Regions from separate parts of the Homo sapiens genome. Here all the other regions are linked to region 3. Evidence: promoter capture Hi-C in 16 types of primary human blood cells and fetal thymus (Javierre and others, 2016). All regions are on one chromosome and are shown on one strand. The core of a region is centred on a gene start or on the middle of the fragment in contact, and the rest is flanking DNA. Distances in the headings are between cores, read along the strand shown.

Region 1 (2,700 bases), core at 167-2,666, 470 kb after region 3:
CTGGACCACCATTCGTTAAGTCAGCTGAAGTGTGCAATCACTCTGCCATTGGTACAGAGTACAAGAAGTGATATTTGTGATGTACAGTTGTCCCTCTTTATCCTTAGAGGACACATTCTAAGATCCCTAGTGGATGCCTGAAACCACAGTGCTGAACGCTATATATATAGTATGTTTTTTCCTATACATAAACACCTATGATAAAGTTTAATTTACAAATTAGGCACAGTAAGAGATTAACTATCACTAATACTAAAATAGAACAATTATAACTATATGCCAGCATCAGCTTTGGGGCCATTATTAAGTAAAACAGGGTTACCTGAACACATGCACTGAGATAATATGATAGTCAATCTGATAACCAACAGGGCTAGTAAGTAACAACATGGATATGCTGGACAAAAAGATTCACGTCTCAGGTTGGACGGCACAAAATTTCATCATGCTATGCTAGACTGGTGTGCAATGTAAAATTTATGAATTATTTCTGAAATTTTCCATTTAATATTTTGGACTACAGCTGACTGTGGGTAACTGAAACTGTGGAAAGTAAAATTGTGGATAGGCTGGTGACTACTGTATAGGGTCCAAGTCCAGAAAAGGTAGGGTCCTCAATCTGCAGCAACTGCCTGAATGTGATTAGGATGGAGTACCACGCACTGTGGGTTAGTGGTTCTGAACACAACTAGGCTGAGCAGCGTCAACTATATCAGTATAGCAGAGGGCAACAAGAGGAAGAGGTCTCTTTAGTAGTCTTACAAGACTACTTGTAGTAGTCTCATGATGATCTTAAGAGATTTTGATGGGCTTGCCTGTATGACCTCAATCGCAGATAAACTGTCCTAGTTCTCTAATAAACAAATATCTCACCCGTAGAATTAAGATCCCAGAAAAGGAGGTATTTGCTAATTTGTATTATTCCTTTTGGTCTTATATACATGCCACTATCTTCTCCCAGTTTGTGGCTTGTTGGGTCCATGCTCTTCTTTCCATAAATATTATGTGCCACATAGGGAACTAAGCACTGTGCACACCATGCAAAACAAGACAGACAAGTTCCTTGCCCTCATGGAGCTTACATTCTACTAGAGATTATATTCTAGTGGAGGAAAAGAACATAGAAGACAGACAATAGTGAAGTAAAAATAAACACAGACATTCATGATCATAAACAAATGAAATGGGGATGGACACTTGCTTTTAGTAAGAAACTGTAGGAGAGATATAATTAAGGAGGCTAACATTTAAGTGGAGCTCTGAATAATGAGGAGACAGTCATAGTAAGGGGTGGGAACAAATATAAAGTCCAAAGCAGCAAGCTTCTGCTTGGGAAATTGGTAGGACAGCATGGATAGGGTATAGTGAAAAGAGAAAAAGGGATATAAAAGATCAGGCTGGAAGAGCAGGCAGAAGACAGACTGCACAAAGGGCTTTGAAAGGCATGGTAAGGAATTTGAGTTTTATTCTGAGTATTATTAGAATACTGAGGAGTTTCTGAAGCCACTGACAAGCTTAATGTAGTATATGAACTGACCATTTTTTCATTTTTGCCAATTGAGAGATAAGGGTGGAGGCTGGGCACGGTGGCTCATGCCTGTAATCCCAGCACTTTGGGAGGCTGAGGCGGGCAGATCACCTGAGGTCAGGAGTTTGAGACCAGCCTGACCAACATAGTGAAACCCGGTCTCTACTAAAAAAACAAAAAATTAGCTGGGTGTGGCGGCATGCACCTGTAGTACCAGCTACTCGGGAGGCTGAGGCAGAAGAATCGCTTTAACTCAGGAGCCAGAGGTTGCAGTGAGCTGAGATCACGCTACTGCACTCCAGTATGGGTGAGAGTGAGACTCTGTCTCAAAAAAAAAAAAAAAAAAAAAGTCAGAGAGAGATAAGGGTTGAGATCTATTAGAGTAACAACTGTTAAAAACTTTGTTTTGTGAGACAGGTTCTCATCTTACTCTGTTGCCCAAGTAGCTGGCACTACAGATGTGCACCACCATGCCTGGCTAATTTTTGTATTTTTTTTTTGTAGAGATCGGGTCTCACTACATTGCCCTGGCTAGTCTCAAACTGCTGGGCTCAAGAGATCCTTCTGCCTTGGCTTCCCAAAGTGCTGGGATTGTAAGCGTGAGCCACTGCACGTGGCCGCAAGTTGTATTTAATAGCAATACTAAACTTTCCATTTACAAAAATACACAACAAAATGCCTTTAATCTGTATTAGGCACTTACTACTTTTCCAATGGATGTGTTTTATCAGGTTTAAAACAGTTTAAGATAAGGAAATGCCATATTCTGAACAATAGGTTACCTTAAGTTTATAACATATTGGCAAGCATTCAAATTACCAAATAAATTTTAAGGTCAAGGAAAGCACTCAACCCTGAATAGTAGTCTATATTTTATTTTATTTTGAGATGGAGTCTCATTCTGTCGCCCAGGCTGGAGTGCAGTGGCATGATGTCAGCTTACTACAAGCTCCACCCCCTGGGTTCAAGCCATTCTCCTGCCTCAGCCTCCCGAGTAGCTGGGACTACAGGCACCCGCCACCACGCCCGGCTAATTTTTTGTATTTTTAGTAAAGACGGGGTTTCACCATGTTAGCCAGGATGGTCTCCATCTCCTGACCTCATGATCCGCATATCTCGGCCTCCCAAAGTGCTGGGATTACAGGCATTAGCCACTGTGCCCAGCCTATCTT
Region 2 (2,700 bases), core at 154-2,653, 390 kb after region 3:
TCTAAAAATTTCTTGTCTTTGCCTTGTGTTCAGCCTACAGCTGCTCATGCTGCTGGGTGAAGCTCTCCGAACCTCTTCTTGGTTTGCTCAAATTGCTAATTTATCTAAAGTTTTTCTTTAACATAACTATGGAGACCTTTTAAGAAAATCAGTGACAGCAGCCCACCCTTCTTACAGTCAGGGATAAAATGAGTTTAAAACACACTTTCCGGCTGGGCACAGTGGCTCACGCCTGTAATACCAGCACTTTGGGAGGCTGAGGTGGGTGGATCACCTGAGGTCAGGAATTCGAGACCAGCCTGACCAATATGGTGAAACCCCATCTCTACTAAAAATACAAAAATTATCTGGGCGTGGTGGCATGCACCTGCAGTCCCAGCTACTTAGGAGGCTGAGAAAGGAGAATTGCTTGAACCTGGGAGGCAGAGGTTGCAGTGAGCCGAGATCACGCCACTGCACTCCAGCCTGGGCGACAGAGCAAGGTTCTGTCTCAAAAAAACACTTTCCTATAAGATTCCATGTGTATGAAATAGATACAGACAGAAAGTACATTAGTGGCTGCCTAGGGCTAGGGGAAGGAGTAATGGGGAGTGACTGCTAATGGGTATGGCAGTGATAAAAATATTCTCAAATTGGATTGTGATGATGGTAGCATAATTCTGTGAAAATACTAAAAACACTGAACTGCATATTTTAAATGGCTGAATTATATGGTATGCAAATTATATCTCAATGAAGCTATCTTTAAAAAAGCATTTTCCTTCAGATATGCTTCATACCAGAATTATGTGCTCTAGTAGTATTTTTAATTAACTAAAAAACACATTTTAGATACAGTTGGTGACCAATGTTATTTAAGCCAACCACTGTCCTCTTGTAATCTGACTTATTTTGTATCAAGTGAAAGACAAAAGAAAAACAAAAGTATTCCAAAGATCTTATACTGATCAAACTATGAGACTTAAATGATACTATCAAAAGTATTCAAAAACCAGCTGTGAGTCAGGACAAGGAGATGTGACAGTTAAGCAAAGAAGGCTGACAAAGAGATTCCAGAGGTAGAGGAGTCAGAGGATGAATAAATTGCGTTCTCTGAAACTGACTCCTGTCTTAGGAGCAAAGGAAGAGGGCCAGTGAAACAGTCTTCCGACGCTTCCAGAGACATTTCTGAAACTGGGTTCTATTTTTCATCACTACTGTGAATGAAAAGCTATGGCACCTGGCAGAGCCACAGATTTCAGCATGGTGTAATAAGAGCTCATCCCACTCCATCAGCTGTTTCTGTATGAAGAGTATACATATGTGTTCAGTCTTGCCCTTAAAAAACTCCCCCTGTACCCATGACTTAAAAATTACAGGATTGGCTGGGCATGGTGGCTCACACCTGTAATCCCAGCACTTTGGGAGACCAAGATGGGTGGATCACTTGAGGTCAGGAGTTTGAGACCAGCCTGGCCAACATGGTGAAACCCTGTCTCTACTAAAAAAATACAAAAATTAGCTGGGTGTGGTGGCGTGCACCTGTAATCCCAGCTACTTGGGAGGCTGAGACAGGCAAATTACTTGAACCTGTGAGGCGGAGGTTGCAGTGAGCCGAGATCACACCACTGCACTCCATCCTGGGTGACAGAGTGAGACTCCGTCTCAAAAAAAAAAAAAAAAATTACAGGATTAGGTTGGAGAGAGAAGGTGTCAATGAAACGAAAGATTATCTACTGGCAATCCATAGATTATCAGATAAGGGGTCTATACCCCTTATCTGAAATCCCTGGGGCAAGATATATTTTGGGATTCAGAATTCTTCAGGTTTAAGAACAGTAAGGGAAAGCACATATACTACATAGCACCGCCAGCTGGGTATAGACAAGCACATCCTATAATCTAATATATCTATTTTCATTCCTACAATAAAACATTTGAATACTTACACTAAATGGGATAAAGAAAATAGTGAGCTCCATGTCAGTTTAGGTCAGGTTTTGCTGCCAGACTAGTTATAAATAACTTGATTTTCAGCATTTTGTGGATTTTAGAATTGTATATAAGGGAGTGTACACCTGTACTGGTTTCTCACTTTTTCTACTGCAACTCCCAGTAAATGGGCCTCTAGCATAAAATCCTGGCTGTCTAAGGTAAAGAAGGAAAGCAGAAAGTCTGGAGACAGCTGAGAGGTACCAGCTTTGTCAGTGGCTTGGATTTCCTAACCAGGGCTATCCTACTGCACTAAGTGTTCCCACTGACAAGTTTTATTAAACTCATGTATCTTCACACAGAGCAGTATCTTCAATCTAAGTGAACAATTATACTAAGTTGTACTCAAGGTAGAGTAAGCCAAATATAAAAGACATATCTGAATCTCTCCTATAAAATACAAGAAGAATATATACTTACTTTGGGTAACATATGCACCAAAAAGAATCCACATGGAAGCAATAAGTGACCCAAACATCAACATGAAACCAATGAAAAGCCAAACTCGAGCACCTGTGTAGAGAAGAGGCTTTATGATTTTGTTCATTTTTGCAGCTCTGTAACGTCTTAGGAATACATAATACTAGGAGCCCTGTTAGCCTAGTATATATTATGCATATCAAAGATAGTCATATATTTATATAAATCTGCTGTAAGTTAAATGAATGATGATTTAAAAAAAAAACACTAAAAGAAGTTAAACCATACATGGAAAAGGAAAAAAAGAAA
Region 3 (2,700 bases), core at 197-2,696:
AGAGTCATGAAAGGAGGAAGAGGAGAAATCACCAAGGCTTCCAGAAGAAAGCAAGGTTGGAGCTGAACCTGAGGCATAGGCAGGATGCTACAGGCAGAGCTGGGGGTCAGAAGCAAAGATCAGAGTGAACCCATGTGGCAAATATTGGTGGAAGAAAACCAGAACAAAGCAGCCCTGAAACCAGCAAGCACAGCCACCAAGATGCCCTCTTCCCCAGGACATTGACAAGTTATAGTAGCATGCACTGGTGCTGGGGGCAGAAAATGTCCATAGACACCAAGTAATGCTATTCTATTTGGCAAATAAAATGATTCATTCCCACCCTCAACCGATAGGACTATGTGGGTGTTTTGTTTTGTTTCTAATAAGAGGCCAATTTCTGAGTGACTTTTGCTTAAGCAAATGTCAAGTTGCTGATAGACCATCCCTTTCGGGGAGGATAGAAACCCGACCCAAAGGCTCCTTTGTCCCTAAAGACCTTTCAATCAGAGGGATGGGGAAGGAGGTTGGGAGCAGCAGGGAGGAAATATCCTAATGCTACTTGTCATTTAGTCCAGAAATTTAGCGACCTGAACCTGGCAGGAAATTATGTATTTTAAGAAAAAAAAAACATGATACACTCATGTTCATAGCAGCATAATTCGCAACAACCAAAAGCACCCCAAATGTCCATCAACGAATGAATGGATAAACCAAATGTGGTATATCCATATACTGGAATATTATTCAGCCTTGAAAAGGAAGAAACTTTGATACATGCTACAACATGGATAAACCTTGACGACAATATGCTAAGTGAAAGAAGCCAGTCACTAAAAGACAAGTGCTGTATGATTCTACTTATATGAGGGACCTAGAGTAGAACAAATTCATAGAGACAGAACAGAAGAGTGAATTCCAGGAACTTGGGTCGGGGGGAGTGGGGAGTTGTTTAATGGGTGGAGCTTCAGGGTTGCAAGTTGAAAAGAGTTCTGGAGATGGGTTGCACAACAATGTGAATTTAATTTAAATCAATTTAATGTGCACACTAATGCATATAACATTACTGAACAGTACTCTAAACATAAGACGGTAAATTTTATGTTATGAATATGTGATCACAGTTAAAAAAAAATATGAGGGAGGTTGTTTTTGAGTAGACAGTTGCTGGAGGAAGGCACGTGAGTTGCAGCCTGACCAGTGCGACCAGTCCTCCTTCAACAGCCCCGCTTGCCTTGAAAAGGCGCCCTTACTCCGCTCAGGGGGCCTGTCCCGCGCGGCTGGCACAGGCGCTCACAATAACCTCCTAAAGCGGTGCCAGCCGCACCTCCGCGCGGCCCCGGCACAAGCAGCCAATGAACACGCGGCTGCGCCCGGCCTCGCGCCTCCATTGGCTGCGCCCCGCCACCCGCTGCCCCGCAGGTTCCCAAGCCGGGTTTAAAGGGGTAGGGCGCGGGCCAGGGCCCCACCATCGTTTCCCCGCGCGCAGGTCCGCGGGGAGGGGCGGCCTGCCGACCGGCCCACCCCAGGGCGTTCCTGAAGGGCGTCCTCGGCCGCCCCCACCGCCTCCCAGATGTACTATGCGGTTTCCCAGGCGCGCGTGAACGCGGTCCCCGGGACCATGCTGCGGCCACAGCGGCCCGGAGACTTGCAGCTCGGGGCCTCCCTCTACGAGCTGGTGGGCTACAGGCAGCCGCCCTCCTCCTCCTCCTCCTCCACCTCCTCCACCTCCTCCACTTCCTCCTCCTCCACGACGGCCCCCCTCCTCCCCAAGGCTGCGCGCGAGAAGCCGGAGGCGCCGGCCGAGCCTCCAGGCCCCGGGCCCGGGTCAGGCGCGCACCCGGGCGGCAGCGCCCGGCCGGACGCCAAGGAGGAGCAGCAGCAGCAGCTGCGGCGCAAGATCAACAGCCGCGAGCGGAAGCGCATGCAGGACCTGAACCTGGCCATGGACGCCCTGCGCGAGGTCATCCTGCCCTACTCAGCGGCGCACTGCCAGGGCGCGCCCGGCCGCAAGCTCTCCAAGATAGCCACGCTGCTGCTCGCCCGCAACTACATCCTACTGCTGGGCAGCTCGCTGCAGGAGCTGCGCCGCGCGCTGGGCGAGGGCGCCGGGCCCGCCGCGCCGCGCCTGCTGCTGGCCGGGCTGCCCCTGCTCGCCGCCGCGCCCGGCTCCGTGCTGCTGGCGCCCGGCGCCGTAGGACCCCCCGACGCGCTGCGCCCCGCCAAGTACCTGTCGCTGGCGCTGGACGAGCCGCCGTGCGGCCAGTTCGCTCTCCCCGGCGGCGGCGCAGGCGGCCCCGGCCTCTGCACCTGCGCCGTGTGCAAGTTCCCGCACCTGGTCCCGGCCAGCCTGGGCCTGGCCGCCGTGCAGGCGCAATTCTCCAAGTGAGGGCGGGCCTGGGCCTGGGGCGCGACCTCGGCCCGGCCTCCCTTCGCTCAGCTTCTCCGCGCCCCTGCTCCCTGCGTCTGGGAGAGCGAGGCCGAGCAAGGAAAGCATTTCGAACCTTCCAGTCCAGAGGAAGGGACTGTCGGGCACCCCCTTCCCCGCCCCCACCCCTGGGACGTTAAAGTGACCAGAGCGGATGTTCGATGGCGCCTCGGGGCAGTTTGGGGTTCTGGGTCGGTTCCAGCGGCTTTAGGCAGAAAGTGCTCGCTCTCACCCAGCACATCTCTCTCCTTGTCCCTGGAGTTGCGCGCTTCGCGGGGCCGATGTAGAACTTA
Region 4 (2,700 bases), core at 10-2,509, 360 kb after region 3:
CAGAGCATCTGTACTTGGCTTCCATGATCAAAAGGTTCAAGGATGAAAATGACTCTGAAAGCCACCAATGTGATCTTTGTTCCAGCTGTGAGTCTGTGTGTTAGGGTCCCCAAGACCCACCCTAGATCGCTCAAAGGACTCCCAGGACTCAGCACAGAGTCACACTCTGATTTCGTTTTGAGACAGAATTTCACTCTGTCTCCCAGGGTAGAGTGCAGTGCCACAATCTCGGCTCACGGGTTCAAGAGATTTTCCTGTCTCAGCCTCCACATCTGTGCCTGGCCCATACTCTGATTTTTTATAGCAAAAGGATGCAAAGCAAAATCGGCAAAGGGAAGAGGCACATGGAGGAAAGTCCGCAGGTGTCCAGGGGTAGGCTTCCAGGAGCCCTTCCTGAGCTGAGTCACGCAGGATACACTTCATTGCTCCACCAGCAAGCTGTGACTGCACATGTGAACTGTTGTCTGCCAGGGAGGCTTATGAGAGACCCAGCGCCCAGGGCTTTTTCTGGGGGCTGGCCACATACGCACCCTCTGTGTAGCGTATGCCAAAATTCCGACTCCCAGAAGGAAAACAGATGTTCCTCATAAAGAAAACACATTGTGCAAACAGTGTAGGGACGGTAAGCCACCTTACCAGTTTGGGAATGGGAGGGATAAACTTGAAATCCAAATTCCCAGGCTGGGCGCGGTGGCTTACGCCTGTAATCCCAGCACTTTGGGAGGCCGAGGCAGGCAGATCACTTGAGGTCAGGGGTTCGAGACAGGCCTGGCTAGCATGGTGAAAACCCATCTCTACTAAAAATACAAAAATTAGCCAGGCGTGGTGGTGGGCACCTGTGATCCCAGTTACTCAGGAGGCTGAGGCAGGAGAATTGCTTGAACCTGGGAGGCAGAGGTTGCAGTGAGTCGAGATCACACTACTGCACTCCAGCCTGGGCAACGGAGCAAGACTCCGTCTCAAAAAACAAACAAACAAAAAACGCACACAAATTCCCAGATGTCAGCTAAGGGTTGACCTGGAAATCAGGCCCTTCAAAGGGCATTAGTGTTAGGCCTGTTACGTTAGCTCTTCTGCAGTCTGTGACTCTAAATTTTAGGAATTCCAATTGAATGCTGAAATAAACCCAAAGGGAATTTTTGTCCTTAAAATCGTGTCTTCCTCTGCCCTGGCAGTCCAACACCATTAAACAGAAGAAAAGAAAATGTAAAACCATCAAGTAATACTATTATTCATAGATCATACAATTACTTTTATATTTTTATTTTTTAATTTTAATTTTTCAGAGACAATTTCACTCTGTCACCCAGGCTGGAGTGCAGTGGTGCAGTCATAGCTCACTGTAGCCTCCAATTCACAGGCTCAAGCCATCCTCCCACTTTGGCCTTCCGAGTAGCTGGGACTTATAGGCATGCACCACCATGACCAGCTTATTTTTTTATTATTATTTTCTGTAGAGACGGAGGGAGGGGGTCTCACTATGTTACCCAAGCTCAAACTCCTGGACTCAAGTGATCCTCCCACCTCAGCCTCCCAAAGTGCTGGAATTACAGGCATGAGCCACCATGCCTGGCCTATTTTTGTATTTTAAAAAATAACAACATGTTCTGTATTTGAATAATCTGCCTTTTTTCAGTTAACAATTTAGCAGCCTTGTCTTCCCATGTTTTCAAGCATATGTTATACCACCATTTCATGTGGCTGTAGTGGATTATATTGTATCTCAAAATTAGAAAACAGTTCTTTGCAAGAAACCCTATACTGCCATAATAGGGTATCGCTGTTTTCCACTTTGGTATGGGACAATGACAGCCTTGCCAGGACAACAGGAGCCATTGCCTGGAAGACCAGGTGGGGAGGCAGCAAGGCCTGCTCAAGGCAGCAGAGGGATGCGCAGAGGAGACACAGAACCTTCCTAGAGTCTAGGGTCCAGTTGTCTCCTGATGACATAAATCCTTAAGGTCATTTTAGCTGAAACTATAGGAGGCTCAAGCACATTTCGGTCAAACTAGAAGCAGGTTGGGAATGAAAGGAACATTATTTCCCAGAATAATTTTTTCTCTGTTGACTAACTTGAGGTATCTAGATTAACCGTGAGATACAAAATGTTGGCCAGGCGCGGTGGCTCACGCCTATAATCCCAGCACTTTGGGAGGCCGAGGCAGGTGGATCACCTGAGATCAGGAGCTCGAGACCAGCCTGGGCAACATGGTGAAACCCTGTTTCTACTAAAAATACAAAAATGAGCCAGACATGATGGTGGGTGTCTATAATCCCAACTACTCAGGAGTTGGAGGCAGGAGAATTGCTTGAACCTGGGAGGCGGAGGTTGCAGTGAGCCGAGGTCGCACCATTGCGGTCCAGCCTGGTGACAGAGCGAAACTCCATCTCAAAAAAAAAAAGAAATACAAAATGTTTGTTTTGAGATGGAGTCTTGCTCTTCATCCAGGCTGGCGCAATCTCAGCTCACTGCACCCTCTGCCTCCTGGTCCAAGTGATTCTCCTCCCTCAGCCTCCCATGTAGCTGGGATTACAGGTGTGTGCCACCACATCCAGCTAATTTTTGTACTTTTAGTAGAGACTGGGTTTTGCAATGTTGGCCAGGCTGGTCTCTTAACTCCTGACCTCAGGTGATCCACCCACCCTGGCCTCCCAAAGTGGTGGGATTATAGGCGTGAGCCACCCCATCCAGCCCAAAAT
Region 5 (2,700 bases), core at 128-2,627, 410 kb after region 3:
GGATTGGGGTGGTGAGTGGGAAGGCTGTGTCTCCGGAAGAAGAAATATACGTCCCCACCTCACTCTAATTAAACCTGCTTTTCCAGCGCGATAAATATTCAAGATAACTTTTGGTTTGCATTTCAATAACAAAGTCTTGCACCACTATCTTCAGTTTAAAAAAAAAGTTTAATGTTTGCTCTACGTTTGAAATGCATGCAGGTTTAAAAGACAAGAAACAAAATGATGAAAAAGTGTGACCGGCCTGAGAGTTCAGAGCCTCTGAAGTGTCAAGGGATCCACAGTGCAGGTAGGATGAAGAGTCTGAGAAGGGAGATGGGATCCTCCGAAAAGAGAAAATCGGGTCTTACAGCGCGATGTAAGACGATGCGGATGCCACTTCCCTCCCACCCCGTCCCGTCCGAGGCCTCCGCCCCCTGCCCCTCCGCACCCCCCGACCCAGGCACGCGCAGCGGGGAGCAGCCCAGCCTAGCCCGTCTCACTGCTTTGGTTTTGAAAGGTCACGTATTTACCTTAGAATTTCAGCACCTTCCAACTTACTGTTTTAAGTACCTTTAACCAGCCTATTGGCTAAAAACCGAAACGGTCCTACCCGCGACTACCACTGCTCCAGTGACAATGCTCTGCTGCTACTTATTTAACGGAGCTCAAGGTTTATAATTCTCGAAAGAATGTTGTTCCCCTTCCCTTTCCCCTCCCGCCTCTGTACTTGACTCTCGTAAGAATGAAATCAGAAAAGTGCAGAAAACACAGGCTCCTAGCAATGGTTCGGGGCAAACGGGAGGGGCGAAGAAGGGCTGGAGCCGCCCCGGGGCCCTCGCTCCGGCCTCGGGAGGGCGTCGCGGCCGCAGCAGGGCGTCCCGAAAACCGTCGCCTCCGTGCCCGCCGCGCGAGAAGGTGAAAGGCACGAGATGGAGCCTCTCCAGCCCTCCCCAGGAACGCAACCTGACGGCGTGACAGCGCGGCAGGGCAGCCTCCCCGGGCTGCTTGCGGGTCGCGGCGGCGCCACGGTCACGGTCGGCCCGAAGGGACGCGGGCAGGGGCAAGAAGGGGCGGCGGGGGCTCCGCGGGCCCGAGTCTGCAGGCCGGCGCCGAACGCAGGGAAAACCCGGCTGGACGGCCCCACAGCCCCCAGAAGGCCGGGCCGGACAGGGCCCGACGAGGGAGCCTCCTTACGCGCGGGCGGCGGGCGCGAGCCCTCTACGGTTGCCTGGCGCCGGAGACCCACAGACAGGACTCACCCAGCTTCCTCAAACGCCCACGCCGACTTCAGGCGCGCGCGCAGGAAGGAGACTGCTGCGCCACAACCCTGCCGGCGTCCCGCGGCTCCACCTCAGCCCCGGGAGCCCGGAGCTGGGAGCAGACGCGAGGATAGAGCGCCGGTGAGGCGGGGCGAGGCGCCGTGTGCACCGCAGCGACCAATCGGAGCGCAGCAAGTGGCCGGCCGGGGGCGGGGCGGGACGCGAGGGGGCGGGGAGAGGGCGTTGGCTGGGCGCAGCGGGACGCCGGGCGCTCCTCGCGACCAATCGGCGTGCAGCAAGTGGCCGGCCGGGGGCAGGGCGAGCTCCGAGGGACGGGGTGGGCTGCTCTGCAGGCCTCCCGGAGCCGGAGTTCAGACCCAGCTATCTACGGTTCCGGGCAGAGCGGGACGGGCCTCTCCTGTCCCCTGCCGGTGGGCGGCCGCCGCCGGGCTCCCACTGCTGCGTTTCTGCACGCTGACTTGAAGTGCAGTACCGTGAGATTACGTGCGGACGGAGCTCGAGACCCGGGGGACCAGGGTTTCCCTTCGCCTATGGCCGATCAGTCTTGTCTGTCTGCGAGCTGCCCAGAGTAGGGAAGGTGCTCCGGGAGGGTTCTCGGGAACGGAGGGTCTTTAGAGATGCCTTTTTCTAATCCCCTCAATTCAGAAATGGAGCCCCAGAAAGTTGAAGTTAGTAAACCAGGGCTACCCAGCGAGTGCTGGTTACCCGAGGTGATCCTCACAATACAACTAGTCTTCTGATTTCGCTCGGCGCTCTCCCGTCTATTCACGTAGATTTTTGTCTTTTTTTTTTTTTTTCGTCTTTCTTATAGTCAGATATCTTTCAGCCTCTTGGATTTTCAACATAACTTTAACAGCGTTTGGAAGCCCCGTCTAAATTTCCTACAGAAATGCCTATAACCATTTAGTTGTTTGGGGGAAAGTCGAGCTTTGTTTTTTGGGTGGTTTGTTTGTTTGTTTTGAGACAGGGTCTTGCTCTGTTGTCCAGGGTGGAGTGCAGTGGTGTGATCTTGGCTCACTGCAGCCTCTTACCTCCCACGCTCAATCAATCCTCCCACCTCAGCCTTCCGAGTAGCTGGGATTACAGGTGCGCACCACCATGCTTGGCTAATTTGTGTATTTTTAGTAGAGACGGGATTTCACCTGGCTGATCCTGAACTCCTGACCTCAGGTGATCCACCCGCCTCTGCCTCCCAAAATGCTGGGATTACAAGCGTGGGCCACTGTGCCCAGCCAAGTAGAGTTATTATCAGTGGAAATCTAAAAAGCATTTTACTTGAGGCATAATGAAGTAAAAGGTTTTGTATCATGGAATTATCACCAAAAATGCCATCCTGGATAATGTTCTCCTATAGCTCTTATACATGGGCTAGGATCTAGGTGTTCAATAAATATGTGCTGAATAATTTACTTTTGAAATATGTCACAATGCTGGCATT

What was found. The method cuts DNA at HindIII sites, captures the fragments that hold promoters and counts their contacts. A CHiCAGO score of 5 or more calls a contact.
Region 1: a contact is called between a fragment that was not itself captured here and the fragment with the promoter of OLIG1 in region 3, in 1 of 17 cell types (neutrophils). The highest score is 5.3, in neutrophils.
Region 2: a contact is called between a fragment that was not itself captured here and the fragment with the promoter of OLIG1 in region 3, in 2 of 17 cell types (naive B cells and monocytes). The highest score is 5.3, in naive B cells.
Region 4: a contact is called between a fragment that was not itself captured here and the fragment with the promoter of OLIG1 in region 3, in 1 of 17 cell types (monocytes). The highest score is 5.3, in monocytes.
Region 5: the fragment with the promoter of TMEM50B here is called in contact with the fragment with the promoter of OLIG1 in region 3 in 8 of 17 cell types (neutrophils, monocytes, naive CD8 T cells and 5 more); the score reaches 18.3 in neutrophils.

The regions. Positions count from the first base shown.
Region 1 is chr21:33,536,386-33,539,085 of GRCh38, forward strand. The region is part of intron 2 of GART (phosphoribosylglycinamide formyltransferase, phosphoribosylglycinamide synthetase, phosphoribosylaminoimidazole synthetase); the gene reads right to left. Among named protein-coding and RNA genes, the nearest start is that of GART, 4.4 kb to the right of the region's middle. The HindIII fragment of the contact is 192 bases long and covers 1,321-1,512 here.
Region 2 is chr21:33,458,022-33,460,721 of GRCh38, forward strand. TMEM50B (transmembrane protein 50B) reads right to left here. Exons shown (of 7, transcript NM_006134.7): 5 at 2,392-2,484. Among named protein-coding and RNA genes, the nearest start is that of TMEM50B, 21 kb to the right of the region's middle. The HindIII fragment of the contact is 2,951 bases long and covers 1-2,700 here.
Region 3 is chr21:33,068,695-33,071,394 of GRCh38, forward strand. OLIG1 (oligodendrocyte transcription factor 1) reads left to right here and starts at 1,447. Exons shown (of 1, transcript NM_138983.3): 1 at 1,447-2,700. The coding sequence starts at 1,553. The coding sequence ends at 2,368. The HindIII fragment of the contact is 4,947 bases long and covers 1-2,700 here.
Region 4 is chr21:33,429,178-33,431,877 of GRCh38, forward strand. The region is part of intron 4 of IFNGR2 (interferon gamma receptor 2); the gene reads left to right. Among named protein-coding and RNA genes, the nearest start is that of IFNGR2, 27 kb to the left of the region's middle. The HindIII fragment of the contact is 9,279 bases long and covers 1-2,700 here.
Region 5 is chr21:33,478,597-33,481,296 of GRCh38, forward strand. It overlaps TMEM50B (transmembrane protein 50B), which reads right to left and starts at 1,378. Exons shown (of 7, transcript NM_006134.7): 1 at 1,242-1,378. The HindIII fragment of the contact is 5,416 bases long and covers 1-2,700 here.